Linked DNA regions of Homo sapiens: region 2 is linked to region 1. The links are contacts of gene promoters, found by promoter capture Hi-C in blood cells and fetal thymus (Javierre and others, 2016). All regions are on one chromosome and are shown on one strand. Each heading gives the region's core, a stretch centred on a gene start or on the middle of the fragment in contact. The rest is flanking DNA. Distances are from core to core; before and after follow the strand shown. Region 1 holds the start of CCR2 (C-C motif chemokine receptor 2). Region 2 has its middle 88 kb from the start of CCR1.

Evidence for each region. Contacts are between HindIII fragments. The CHiCAGO score rates a contact against its expected background, and 5 or more counts as called.
Region 2: a fragment that was not itself captured here is called in contact with the fragment with the promoter of CCR2 in region 1 in 1 of 17 cell types (monocytes); the score reaches 5.2 in monocytes.

Annotation. Positions count from the first base shown.
Region 1 is chr3:46,349,256-46,356,691 of GRCh38, forward strand. CCR2 (C-C motif chemokine receptor 2) reads left to right here and starts at 4,856. Exons shown (of 2, transcript NM_001123396.4): 1 at 4,856-4,922. RefSeq lists an enhancer at 973-1,122. The HindIII fragment of the contact is 10,451 bases long and covers 1-7,436 here.
Region 2 is chr3:46,116,807-46,124,457 of GRCh38, forward strand. No RefSeq gene overlaps it. Among named protein-coding and RNA genes, the nearest start is that of CCR1, 88 kb to the right of the region's middle. The HindIII fragment of the contact is 2,509 bases long and covers 816-3,324 here.

The DNA of each region.
Region 1 (7,436 bases), core at 3,606-6,105:
ACCTGTCTTGGCCTATCCCCAGCCACAGATTCCTCCCTAGAGCAGGCTACCTCTGAGGCATCTATACTGAGATCTTAATCACAGAGACATTTAAAACATCTAGGCTACAAAAGAATTCCTACTATAGGGTTCAAATGAATTTCTTTCCGTCACTTGAGACAGCTTTTTAGCAAGTACATGTATTAAAGATTCTGATTTCCCCTTTTTTCTCCTACAGTTTGTTTGGCCTAAAGGTATGACATCTAATCTGCTGCATTTACACTCTAAGTCAAAATTACCATTTTGTTCTTTTAATTTCTATTTCTAATCATACATTCTTGTCTACTCCTGGTTCATCTGGAGACAAAGTTGAACTTAGAAGATGGAGGAGAAATTCTTATCTGCCCTCTGCTAGTTGACACTTCCTTTCCAAGAATCATTTGCAGTTGCTGGGCTTTCTTGCTGTGACTCTATGCCCTGTTGTGTTACTTTTTCATTTGTGACAAAAACAGTGGTAATAGTTTGCTTCATTTTTATTATGAAGACTTGACCAGGATAGGTAGGAACATAATTACTGCTTTTTCTGTGGGCATCATATTGGTCCAGATCATGTTTAACCAGAATTGAAGATGTAAAATCCTAGAACTCACTAATCTATTTTAGTAGGTCACAGGAAGCATGCAAACCATAAAAACCGCAATGAACCAAAAGCATCTGTGTTGACAAGAGGCAAGAATTTCTCTATTTTCTAAAGGCACTAACTGAACAAATCTATTGCCCATTACTTAGGAAATTGCTAAGGGCATCGTTAAAGTACTTCAGGCTGTTGAAAAACCTTTTCTGTCTTCTTGCCCCACCACCAATTCTCTCTAGCTATGCTTTCTCTCACATGTTCTTGCCATCCATGGAGTGGCAGAGAGGTTCTGAGTACAACTCTAACTTTCAGTTTCAATGGCCTAATCCCCAACTCAACTGCTGACCTTGAGTGTAAAAATAAACAAGATCTTAAACATCTTAGGGCCAGCATTCTGGGTCTTCTTTTGTTATTTGGGGAGCATAAACTATTCTCATATCATTGGCTTGCAGAAAAATTGAGCTTCTCCTCTTCCTTGCCCCATGTCACCTTGAGGTGACCACAGCCCTGCCTTCTATGTAATCCTGCTTGGTCAGCAGGCACATCAGAGCTCAGTGGCTTGTGACATACTTTCCTTCAAGCCTGCTCGAAGGGCCATACTCATCATTGAGACTGGGAACCTTAGAAACCATGAACCCAGTGCCAATGGGTAGATACAGAATTCTCAAACTCATGAAAAAACATCCTTTTTAACTCTCTCCGTGTGCATAAAGAATTCTAAGATGTACTGATCAAGATTCCCAATTTTCTAACTATCTATTAATATATGGACGAGGTAAGAAGAAAGTTGCAAGAAAAAAATTTGTTTGACTTGACGGTTGTGTGGTTATTTGCCACACTCCCCCAGATCCACTCTGAGTCCCAGGATGCTGATTTTAGGGGCTACATTGCCTAGACTGTCCATTATTCCCTCTTCCCATCTGGTTCAGTCACTGGGAAGCACTGGTAGGAGGTCAGAGTGGGAGAAGGAGGTTAGGATACTTTCTGCCCCTGCTGTCCTACTGCTTTGCTGAACTTCTAGCAGTGGCTGAGCCATCAACCTGCAGCTCTCAATTCCAGCTGTCTGTAGCACTCAAGTGGTATTGTTTATTCTTTTGATCCTTCTAGCTGTTAAGGAAGAAAAAAATAATTTTTTCCTCAATGCTCATAAGTTCTTGGAATGGACCCCTGTAACAAAAGACAGATTAACACGAGAAAAGTTTATTAACGTACATATTTTATACGTACATAGGAGCTATCCAGGGAATGAATAATTCTTAAAAAGGTGACTTTGAATTCCAGCTCATATAGCATCTTCAACAAAGTTCAGTAACATTTTAGAGATATGACAAGACAAAGAAAATGAACTTTGAGCCTCTAGGGACAGTGACTTGTAGGAAGGCAAAAGGAATAAATGGAGGTAAAGGCTGGTTAGTAATACTTGTTAATGAAGATTCCTCTGGTGCCATCTCCAGGTCCACAAGGATTTAAATTTGTCTTCAGTGGTGAACCTTTGTTCACCCTGGCAGAAGGTGTGGAGGGGGGTGCAGATCCGTTTTGTCTTTGTAAGTCTATATCCTGCTTTTAGACAAATAAAGGGAGGGAAAAGAGCTTTCCTTCATCTGCTTCTTAATTGCCTTCAGCTCAACAATCCTTATGCAAAAGAGGTACATTTTAGGGTGTCAAATTCTGGTCTCCCACAAAGCATAGGGATGACAGACCACCTCACCATCCCTGTTGCTTCTTTTAAGCCTGCTCACCCCTCCAAAAATATTTTCATTCTATACTGTCTCTTCAAAATCTCAGCGGAGGGTGCCCTCTGTTATCCTGCCCTCTGTGTCAGTATAAGCCAAAGGTTTGAATCCTGGCTCTGCAACTATCTACCTCTGTGCCTCTCCTTGTTTATGAAATTACAGGGCTGGAGACAAAGATCACAATGTGAAGACAAAATTGGAGAGCGGTCCTAATCAGCCAGAGCAAAATTTCTGGCTCTTGCTCTTCCCCATCCTGGGTTGAATCATAGGAACAGGTGGCAAGATGCCAGGGTCAGGAGATTCCAGAAGTGGCAGCAAGCTCAGTGTTACCAGGTCAGGGATGACCTGTCTTATTATTGAAATCTCAGAGATATGCTCCAATTCCGGCCCAGAGACACATTGAGAGACAACTGGGGAACTTGCTATGTTCCTGAACAGGCAATGAGCTGTCTTCCAAGAAAAAACCTGAGACCCTTCAAGTCTCAGGTCTTACTTAGCACATATACCAGGTCTTACACAGGACACATGGTTACAACTGACTGAAATCTGGGCTGGGTGTAGGAGCTCACACCTGTAATCCCAGCCCTTCAGGAGGCTGAGGCAGGCAGATTGCCTGAGCCCAGGAGTTCGAGACCAGCCCGGGCAACATGACAAAACCCCATCTCTACAAAAAATAGTCAGGCATGGTGGCATGCACCTGTAGTCTCAGCTACTTGGGAGGCTGAGATGAGAGGATTGCTTGAGGTTGAGACTGCAGTGAAGCATGATCATGCCACCGCACTCCAGCCTAGGCAACAGAGCAAGATCTTGTCGCAAAAGAAAGCAAAAACACAACATAACACAACAACAACAACAACAACAACAACAGCAAAAAAGCCAACTTCTTGAAATCTGGAAAGGACACCTGGACTGCCCTGAGCATTTGATTGTTGTTGGCTCTAGCAGTGGATGCATCCTTCAACCTCTGGCACTCTGCAGGGCTCAGACTGTTCTGTTCTGTTTGTTACCTGTGGAGTGCCTGCCAGACCCTGCTCTAGCTGCTTTAGGTCCATTTACCCTCATAGACCCCCAGTCTTGTTATTCATATTTCATATTTGGGAAATGGAAACTTAGAAACTTGCCAAGTCCACAGCATGAGATCCTGCCTCCGGTGTCTGCTGGATTCCAGAAAGTGCCAGGGGCCAACTTAGATGACACCATGTTCTCTGCACAATCTTAGGAATGCTCCTAGTCTGATGTCCCCATTGCAAAATTTACATTATCTTTTAACAAAACGTCTTTCCAAGGAGGGGCATTTAAAATAACTGAGGTTCTTCTTGCTAAGGACGTTCCTGACACAAGAGATAATTTAGCATTTCCTTTTCATTAAAAAGTTTGAAATCCTGTAATTTGTGATAATGTGGATGAACCTAGAGGATGTTAAGTGAAATAAGCCACACACAGATAGACAAATACCACGTGATCTCACTCTTATGTGGAATTTTTTTTTAAATAAGTTGCTTAGCCGGGCATGATGGCACACACCTGTAATCCTAGCTACTCAGGAGGCTGAGGTGGGAGGATGGCTTGAACTCAGAAGGTGGAGGTAGCAGTGAGCTGAGACTGTGCCAGTGCACTCCGGTCTGGGTGACAGAATGAAACCCAATTTAAAAAAAAAAAAAAAGTTGCTATCTTAGAAAAAGACAGTAGAGCAGTGGTTACCAGAGACTGGGGAGGAAAGAGAGGAGGTGAGAATGGGCAGCAGTTGATCAACGGGTACAAAGTTACCATGAGATAGGAGAAACAAGTGCTGGTGCTCTGCTCCAAGTAGGGTGACGGTAGTTAATAATGAATTCTGTATATATAAATAGCTAGAAGAGAGGGTTTTCAATATCATTATTATTTCAAAAGAAATGATAAATGTTTCAGAGGATGGATATGTAATTACCCTGATTTGATCATTGCACAATGTATACATGTAGCAAAACATCACATTGTGTCCCATAAATATATACAATTATTATGTGAATTAAATAAAAAAAAATTTTAAAGTCTTATCTAAATGAAATTTCTAACCAGATTCTGAATCCATGATACCACTGAAACCAGCACACATGATCGCAGTAAAACCTCATTATACTTCCTCCACTATCACCAATACCCTTTATTCTCTGGAACATGAAACATTCTGTTGTGCTCATATCATGCAAATTATCACTAGTAGGAGAGCAGAGAGTGGAAATGTTCCAGGTATAAAGACCCACAAGATAAAGAAGCTCAGAGTCGTTAGAAACAGGAGCAGATGTACAGGGTTTGCCTGACTCACACTCAAGGTTGCATAAGCAAGATTTCAAAATTAATCCTATTCTGGAGACCTCAACCCAATGTACAATGTTCCTGACTGGAAAAGAAGAACTATATTTTTCTGATTTTTTTTTTCAAATCTTTACCATTAGTTGCCCTGTATCTCCGCCTTCACTTTCTGCAGGAAACTTTATTTCCTACTTCTGCATGCCAAGTTTCTACCTCTAGATCTGTTTGGTTCAGTTGCTGAGAAGCCTGACATACCAGGACTGCCTGAGACAAGCCACAAGCTGGTGAGTTGTAGGCATTTTTTCCATTACTTTCTGATTCATAGGCTCAACGCACCTCAAAGCTGGAAATGCCGGGTCTGGGTACACCCTGGGGAACTGCAAAGCCTGCACACTTGGGGGGAATGATCAAGATGAGAGGCAGGGGTGGGGATGGCATGTGCACCAGGAGATGTTAGAGAAACCCTGAGGAAGAGCAGCGTGCAGCAGGTGATGGGGGAGAGTGGGCAGCAAGCGAGGCCAGGACAGCCACTCTGCTCAGTCACCAGTCCACACACCCAGGGGCTCACTCTGCCCCTCTGAGCACCCAAGGACGTTAAAGAGCTGGAACTGTTAGTCTAAATATAGGACCATCCAAGCTCTGAACCAAAATGTGTCCCTTGCCTCAACTCAGGAGATCCACAGAGGCAGAAGTAAGGAATTTATTTTCTGAAAGATAGATTTCTATCAGTTCTGGGTGACATGTTCTGACACTTGAAATGACACCTAGGACAGCACATTTCAGGCATCTTGCTCATTGTTCACTGTAGTAGAAGCTACATGCTAGCCAGTTGTAAAAATGAAATTAAGTAATGTGTGCACAGCATTTAACATAGCATCTGAGCTTCAGGAGCACTCAATTAATGACCACAGTTGTGATTCTTTAGGCAGATGCATTTTTTTCCAACTTTGATCAGAGGTCTTATTTAGCTTCTCCAGATTTCAAGAATCTGGCTCAGTGATATGAAATACAAGACTTGTGAAAAGTGTCAATTGCAAGAGAAATGGAAGGATAAAGTATACAGGTGGGTGGAAAAGAAATTCACAGTCACTGCCAGAAAAAAAATTCTTGAGAATCAAGTCCTGATGATGTTAGGGCTTATAGTTCTTATTATAAAGAGTTTTATGTACTCATTCAGTGAACATTTATTGGTGCCTCCTTTAGCCAGGTACTATCATAAGAGCTGAAAATAGAAGCATAATCCAGTCCTTGATCTTGAGGAACATGCTGTGTGTAGCAGATAACATAATAAGTGCTTATCTAGATGCATGCAGTGTTATGTGATAAGAGTAATATGACAGAGGATACAGATTAGGCTTCACAGAGAAGGGGGATTTGAGCAGGAGGTATTGAAGGGTGAATAGAAGCTCACCAATCATTTTGGGCAGAGGGGCAAGGACCTGCAAAACCACTGAAGCATGAAGGAAATGGTGAGTTTAGGGAAAATGAAGAGAAGATGGCTGTGACTGAAGCACAGGATTTGGGATTGGAGAAGGGACTGGAGGTGAGGCTGAAAAGAGGCAAACTCAGAAAAGATGTTGTGCTGGGCAGTCTGGACATTATCTTTGAAGCCCACCACATATAAGTCATAGGGCTACTGGAGGTTTTAAGCTAAGAGTGACTATTCAATTTCAACTTAAGAGAAGATAGGTTGAGAGGGAACATGGCTTGAGATGAGCCATGAGCAAAGGAAAGACTACAACAAAGCCAGGAGTGAGGAGTGTGTGAAGCAAGAAAGTGACAGTTGAAAGCAGTGCAGAGGGGATGAATCTGAGAGGCATCTATGAGGTGGAACTCAAATGACATGATAATAATACAGGGCATTTCTCTGTGTCAGATGCTGTCCTAAGTCCTTACTCCATTGATCTTCACAGCAACTCAGCATAGTTAATATTTTATGCATAAAGAAATCGGCACTTGAAGGAGTAATTGGCCCCAGATTACACTGCCTATAAGGATTCAAATCCAGGTTTGTTTGGCTCCAAAAACTGGCTCCTAATTTTCAGAAGGAGAAGCAACCCAGGGCAATGCCCAATTTTGCTTCTTAGGCAATGGAGGAATCCACAATCGGAAGGAGTTTTCAGCAGTGCCCCATTTGGGGTGGGTTGAATTTGAGGTCCCTGCATGATACCCACTTTGCTCACTTCAGTGCCTAAAACTGAGTATGGTTCATAGTAGGTGTTCAATAAGTGTTGATGCAGTGAATACATGCATGGGGAGATATGCATCAGGCAATGGGAAATTCAACTCTAAGGCTTAGGGGAAAGCTGGAGCTTGAAGACAGAGCTTTAGAAAACAGTAGCATAGAAGGGAGTAGGAACCATGAGTTTAGACAATACAATTCAGGAAGAACTTTGTAGCAAGGATAAAGAGGCAAAAAATTAAAGAGGTGAGAGCTAAGTGTGGTGCCTGGGGAATCTTAAGGTGTGGGCACGGGGAGGAGATGCCAGCAAAGAACATGAATAAAAAGCGGTAGCACAGCCCCTCCCATCTGGAAGCCAAAAAGAATTGTAAATGGAGGAAGTTAGCAGAAGGATCAAATACTTGAAGAGGGTGGAATTGGAATAAAACCAGGGCATTTGAAAAATTGGGTTGTCACTGCAATCTTAACAAGAGAAGTTTTGGCAGGATGATGGAGGCAGAAAGCTGAGAGAATCATCAGTTAGAACGTTTTTGACTTCAGAGAACAGAAAATGCAGTTCATAATGGCTTTAAAACAGGGGCTTGTTTTTCTCCCAGCAATTTGAGAGGCCAAGGCG
Region 2 (7,651 bases), core at 820-3,319, 240 kb before region 1:
TTAGTTCCCTGAAGTCTTGCATTCAGGCCTGGTGCCTGGGATCATTATTATCCCATTCGGGATTGACATTTGGAAATTTTTGTTTGGCTGGCAAGACTTCTTGCCTGGGAGGGTGTTGCCTCTCCCAGTTGGTTATGGTCACTCTCCTAATTATTCCCCTTTCTTCTCCTGTGAACAGGATATTCATAATAGACATCATTTCGGCCCAGGTGTAAAAGCTGGGTCTAGGAATTGGTCCAGCTGGTCTGCTAAACCGAGGGGATCTTCTAGGAGTGGTTTCATTTCCTTCTTGAAATTCCTAACATCAGTACTTATAAGAGGAGGATTTACAAAGCCAAGCTCTCCCAGTCCCATGGAAACTTCCCTAAGAGGGAACATGCTAGATGCTTGCTGTGCGGAAGGGATAGGGAAGTTCTCAGTAGTCCTCTTACACTGTTGTAATTGTTTTCTTAGATTTGGATAAGGATTTAAAGAAGTAGATGGTTTGGCTCCCCCATGGTTTCTAATCTTCCCCTAATCCCTTTGTTGCCCCTTGATCTTCCTGTCCCCTATTTTGTGAGACGTATGGAGGAGGCAAGCATGATAGGGGGGTCCCAGAGCTTTTACTAGGCTCTTTTTCTCCTTTCTTGAGGGGGAACATGGGAACTAATTCCTTGATCTGGCAGACAGCATAACCTATCTCTTCTTGTGAGGATGGGGTTTTATTATTTACATAGAGAATTAAAGCTCAGCACACCCAACACTTGTCTGAACCAAACTTAGGCCAAAAGACTGAAGGATTATGAATGGAGTCTTTGGGCCAGATAAAACAGCAAAGCTTTATTATCTTTTGCTTTTCCTTGTCCCTGGTTCAAGGGTTGTCCCTCAAAACCTGTAGCATTCTCCCCAAAGGACTATCCATGGGAATGTCAGAGGGAGTCTTTAGCTCCCTCTTTCCTTTGTCCCCTAGGCCTAGAATTTCTGTTTCCCATTTTCAGTCAGTCTCTGTGTCTGAGCGTTTCCCTGTGTACTCAACACTCCCTCCTGGAGGTTTCTTGCACACCCTGAGAATTACTTGCAGGAGAACGGAACTGCGGATTGGGACTCTGCACTCGCTTTGTATCTAGGATACATCTCAGTCACACATGCTCAACCTCCGAAAATGTCCAACCACCAAGGCAGTACTTATAGTCCAATTCTCCTACCTTGGCTTGTGCACCAGGTTACCTGGTTGTTGTGGTGCCTGCTTTTTTCCCTGTGTTGCCTCTGTTGCCTCCTGAATAACAGTCTCAGATTTGTCTAAGGCCTCTATGGGGAGCTGGGACACCCGGACAGAGTGGGCCTCCTAAATTGAGTGGGCTGCATCTCCCCTCTTGGCCAGAGTCCCACTCCATGCAAACACAGAGATCCCGGATGGATTCCCAAGTTTGTAAGAAACATATTCTCCCATCCAAACTCAAGGAAGATACTTGGAGATAGGAAGAACAGCAGAAGCGAGACTTTTAATGGCAGTCTTGCAAGATCAGGTGTCTGGTAGGCAGGCATACCCGGGGCAGTTACAGCAGGTAATTTATCTCCTAGCATGCAAGTCCCTCCCCCAGTTCCTCATTGGTTGAGTACTATGGGGTTACAATCTTTCCAGATATTGCCTAAGTTTCATTATCCCCTTTATAAGGTTATACTCTGGTCCCCTTCCCTGATTAAGTTTCCATTTCCCAATAATGAAACTTTCTTCCCTTTTATGGGCTGACCCCTCCTCTACATTCTGTTCATTTATTGTGACTTTCTAGGTGCATGAGCCATGTGGTTTATTACATTTGCAGGCTGGTTGCCAGTACTTAGAATTATCATGCCTTGAAAATGGACCATTTAAAATGATTTTTCACATACAGGGTCTTTTATATTTTGTTATCAAAGTTTCTCCATTTTGTTTTTCATATTTATGTACCATAATCAATCTGGGATTAATTTTTGTGTGTGTGTGAGTAGAAAACTAATGCATGTGTTAATTTTTTTCTGCATATTTGAATATTTGAAATATTTCATAATTAATATTAAAATCACTCTAATAAAAGTAATACTTGTTTATTATAGAAAAGTTAGAAAAATACAATAAAAATAAAAACAAAACTTCCCCTGTAATAACATAACTCAGCAACACTTTTAATGTTGTGAGGTGTTTCCTTCTGGTCTTTTTTTATTTTTTGGTAAAACTGAGATCAAACTGTTTTCCATTTTTATCACTTAGCATTGTCTTGTGTGTATTTCCTTGTATCATTTGAGTTCTACAAAATTATTTTTAATGATATATGTAGTTTATCATATAGGTGCATCATATTTTATTTAACCAGGAACTTACTGTTAGACACTTAGGCTTCCTCCAAGTTTTCAATGTAAATGTTAGTTGAGCATTGAATATTCTTGTACAAATATTTCTGATTTGTTTTTGAGGATAATTTCTAGAAATGAAGTTCTTGGGTCAAAAGGTATGAAAAATTTTAAGATCTAAGAATACAGTTAGAGAAAGATACCCTCTGGAAAGTGTGTGCCAATTTTAATCCCACCTTCTCCAGCGACGAATGAGCTGTTCCATCCTCCCATAGGCACCCTCCTGGCACTTTTGCTGAAATACATGAAGACTCCAACCTTAGCTGATTCATGTAGTCATAACAAGATCACATGCTGATGAGAATACAAAATCTGGAAAAAGCACATAGCAAGAAGAGAAGTCTGTAATGATTTATTAATATAGTAGCCTCGGTCCTCCTTATTAAATTTATTTGGCAAAAATTTGCCATTCTGCCCTGGGTGATACCCTGATACACTCAGCTCAAACCAAGAGCCAGGCATAGATGTTTAAGACATAAGAAGGACTCCAACTTAACTGGTGCTCAGGGCAAAAGAAGAACACACCAGGACATCTGCCCCTCTGGTTAGGAGAGGTCAGAGGGGGCCAGATCACTCGTTAAAACATTTCAGTGTCTGTTATGAGCCACTCATTGCATTGGAGGTGGGAACACAAAAATGACCAACCTTGACAGAAAATTACAATTTGGAACACTAAGGGCTCTTACAGGATCTAGCTTCAGGGCACTATGAAATCACAGGTAGGAGTGCTCCATGTAACCTGAGGATGTCAGGGATATAGTTTCCCAGACAAGGTATGTCTAGGCTGATCTTTGAAGAGGAAGAGGGCTTGGCCAGGCAGAGAGAAAAACAGGCATCCTACCTAACTAGCTATAGGGCAGACAGACTGTGGAGTAAAAGGTGAGGAGTGTGATGGAAGGGACTGGAGGAGGAACTGTATGAGAGAAGGCTGAAGGAGGAAGGGACTGGGTTATGAAAAGCTTCACGTGGCTTTCTATGGAGTTTATATTCTTTACAACACCGTATGTGTTCTGATCCCATCACCTTTCTGATCATATGTCCTATCCCTCCCCCATCCCAACCACTCTGCTCCAACCACATTGGTCTCCTTGCCATTCCCCAATCATGCTTCCACCTCAGGACCTTTGCACATGCTCTTCTCTCTGCCCAGAATGCTATCCCCCAGGTGTATGTTTGGCTTTCTTCCTCTCTTCCCTCAAATGTCTGCCTGATAGTATTACCTAAGCAGAGAGATTACGTCTGATAAACTTGGACAATATAGCATGCTGCTCTTGCCACCTACTCTGCTGTTCTCTGTCTTCTAACTCTGCTGTATTTTTCTTCTAGTATTTATTTTCTATCTTTGACCCTAACGTCTACTAGAATGAAAGCTCCATGGAGGTGGGGACTTTGCTTTTTTATTGCTTTACCAAATAGGATCTATTGAATAGTCTATTCCTTATGCCTAGAATAGTATCTGATGCATAGCAGATGCTTAATAAAAATTTGTTAAATATGCGAGTGAATTTTGTTATAAAGAGAATGAGGAGCCATTGAAGGTATTTTATGTTGGAGAAGGATCCTCAGATGTGTATTTTAGTCAGCTCTCTGTGCCTGTAGGGTGGAGGATGAGGCCAGTCAACCTGACCAGGAGGTTCCCAAAGTCATGTGTCTGGGTTAAGGTAGAAAGGTTGGGGTGGAGAAGAGGGATGTCTTCCAAAGGAATTAAGTAGGAAGCATATTTGCCTGGCCTCAGTGCCTGTTTGAATGTGGGAGCTGAGAGAGCAGGCAAATGATATTCCAGGTTATTGATTTGGGAATCTGGGTGGGTGCTGCCCTAACTTAGATCAGAGGATGCTGGCAAAGATTCAGTTCAGGAGGAATGACAATGAATTCAGGTTCATGTAGAACATGCTGGGTTTGAAGTTCTTTGGCATGTCCCAAGGGAGATGTTTAGCAGGCAATTTGGATATTGCAGTTACTGGAGCCATTTGTGGTGAGATCACTAAGGGAGGGTGTGTACCACGAGATAGAGGAGTATTAAGAATGGAACCCCAGGGCATATCACCCCAGAGGGAATGGAGGATGTGTGAAACAGGAGGAAAGAGTGTCTAGAAGGTGGGAGTGGTCAGTAACATCCAATAACAATACAAGTAGATGAAATAAGGACTGAACAGGTTAAATTGCATTTTGCAGCTGGGAAGTTGCCAGTGGAGTGCTCAGTACAGGGAATGGAAAAGAAAAATCGAGGCAGAATATGGACTACTTGAAAGAGTAGGAACACTCTGGGAAGAGTAGAGCAACTAAATGTGAAGAGAATGAGCAAGACAAAAGTTGGGCAGCAACTGAAAGGGAAAGGAAGGTGATTTTAACAAAATTAGGTCTGGAAATTCTTCACGCTTTTAATGTTGAGATAAAGATTCATAAGTAGTGAATAGTAAGTGCAGAGAAGTCCCACAAACCCCTCACCCAGTGTCCCTAGTGGTTACAACTGTACACAATTATAGTACAATATCAGTAACAGGGATTTGACTTTGGCACAATGTGTGTGTGTAGTTCTAAGTCATTTTTATCACATGTGTAGGTTCATATTTAATATGATCATCATTGTATTCAAATACAATTTTTTTTAGAGACAGAGCCTCACTCTGTCACCCAGGTTGGACTACAGTGGCATGATCAGAGTCCATTGCAGCCTCGAACTCCTGGGTTTGAGCTATCCTCTTGCCTCAGCCTCCTAAGTAGCTGGGACTATAGGTGTGTGCCACCATGCTCAGCTAATTTTAATTTTTTTGTAGAGATAGGGTCTCGATATATTGCCCAGGATGGTCTTGAACTCCTGGGCTTAAGCAACGATCTTCCCACCTCAAATACAAAATTATTCCATTATCACAAACAGCTCTTTGTGCTACCCATTGATAATCACACCAGCACCTCCTCCCTCCCATCATCTCTAACCCCTGAAAACCACTATTCTGTTTTCTATTTCTATAATTTTGTCACTGAGAATGTTACACAAATGGAATGATAAATCATATACTATTTTGAGATTGGCATAATGCCCTCGAGGCGCATTCAAGTTGTGTTTATCAGTAGCTCATTCCTTTGAATTGCTGAGTAGTAGTGTTTGATATAGATGTACTACAATTCTTTCTCCAATCTATAGTTGAGGAACATTTGTGCCATTTTCTAGTTTGGGGTTATTACAAATAAACTATTAACAATGGCATACAGCTTTTTGTGTGGACAGAACTTTTTATTTTTCTGGGATAAATGCCCAGTGTTTCAATTGCTATATTATAAAGCATTTGCATGTTTAGTTTTCTAAGAAACTGCTAAACTGTTTTCCAGACTTGTTGCACACCATTTTATAGTTCCACCAGCAATGTATGTGTGATCCAGTTTCTCTGCATCCTGGCCAGCAGATATGTAGTGATATTTCATTAAGCTCTTAATTTGCATTTTGCTAATGGCAAGTGATGTTGCACATCTTTTAATGTGCTTATTTGCTATCTTTATAACCTCTTCAGTGAAATATCTCTTTACGCTTTTGTCCATTTTCTAATTGGATTGTTTGGGTTTTTTAAAAATGTTAAATTTTGAGAGGTGTTTGCATATTGAAAATAGAAGTGTTTCAGATATGTGGTGTGATGGTTAATACTGAATGTCAACTTAATTGGATTGAAGGATGCAAAATATTCATCCTGGGTGTGTCTGTGAGGGTGTTGCCAAGGGGCTTAACATTTGAGTCAGTGCACTGGGGAAGGCAGACCCACCCTTAATCTGAGTGGGCACCATCTAATTAGCTGCCAGAAAATATAAAGCAGGCAGAAAAATGTGAAAAGGCTAGACTGGCCTAGTCTTCCAGCCTACATTTTTTCCCGTGCTGGATGCTTCCTGCCCTTGAACATCAGACTCCAGGTTCTTCACCTTTGGGACTCAGACTGGCTTCCTTGCTCCTCAGCTTGCAGATGGCCTATTGTGGTACCTTGTGATTGCGTGAGTAAATACTACTTAATAAACTAATATTATATATATAAATATATATATAATATATATAACCTATTAGTTCTGTCCCTCTAGAGAACCCTGACTAATACATATTGTTTGCAAATTTTCTCTAGATCTGTATGTAGCTTGATCTTGGGTTAAGGTTAATTTTTTCCCTATGGGTTCCTCCAGTACCATGTTGAAAAGACAATTCTTCCTCCATTGAATTGCTTTTACGCACCTGTAAAAGATAAGTTGGCTATATGAGGGGGCTTCAAAAAATTCATAGAAAAATGAAATTAAAAGATAAGAAATTTACTAACTAAAGAAAAATGGGTGCCCTTTAAAGATTTCTTAAGACTAAAAAACAAAAAGAAGTCAGAAGGAGTCAAATCAGGACCGTAAGGTGGATGCCCAGTGATTTCCCATCGAAACTCTTGCAAAATTGCCCACATTTGATGGGGGGAATGTGCAGGAGCAATCTTGTGGTGAAGGCCTCTCTGGTGAAGCTTTTCTGAGTATTTTTCTGCTAAAGCTTTTGTTAGAGTAGGTAGCTACCCAGGCATGAGCAGAGCAGGGGAAGGCTCCCCCACACCAGGAATGTCAGGTGACCATAATTGCCAGGGAAAAGCAGTTTCCCAATAGCTAAAACACCTGGAACTGGTGATCAGCCGCTTCCCATTAACATCTCAAAAATTGGGCAAGCATTAAGAGGCATAATTGTGGAGTATGACCTTTGGTAGGTATTCCACTGGAAAAGGGAAGAATGCCTCAGGTAAGCATGCATACAATTCTAGTAAACACACTGCATATGCTCGCCTCCAGGGTGTTAGGCCACCTTGCATGCCAGCGGGCCACCCTCAGGGAAGAATCATGGGAAAAGGGATGCAAGACCCCAGAGGTATGCCAGCATATAAAATCCCAAGTCAAAAGATCAAAGCCCACATTTAACCTCCAAAATGGCCACTTGGCCCTCTTCCAAGTGTACTTTACTTTCCTTTCATTTCTGCTCTACAGCTTTTTAATAAACGTTCACTCCTGCTCTAAAACTTGCCGCAGTCTCTTTTTTCTGCCTTATGCCCCTTAGTCAAATTCTTTCTTTTGAGAAGGCAAGAACTGAGGTTGCTGCAAACCCCTATGAATTCGCCACAAGTGACTTGGATAACTTCAACTGCTAATACTTTGGCTGACTTTCTCAAAAACACTTTCATAATAAGCAGATGTTATCACTCTTTGGCCCTCTAGAACGTCAGCAAGAAAAATGCCTTGAGCATCCCAAAAAGCTGTTGCCATGACCTTTGCTCTCCACTTTTGC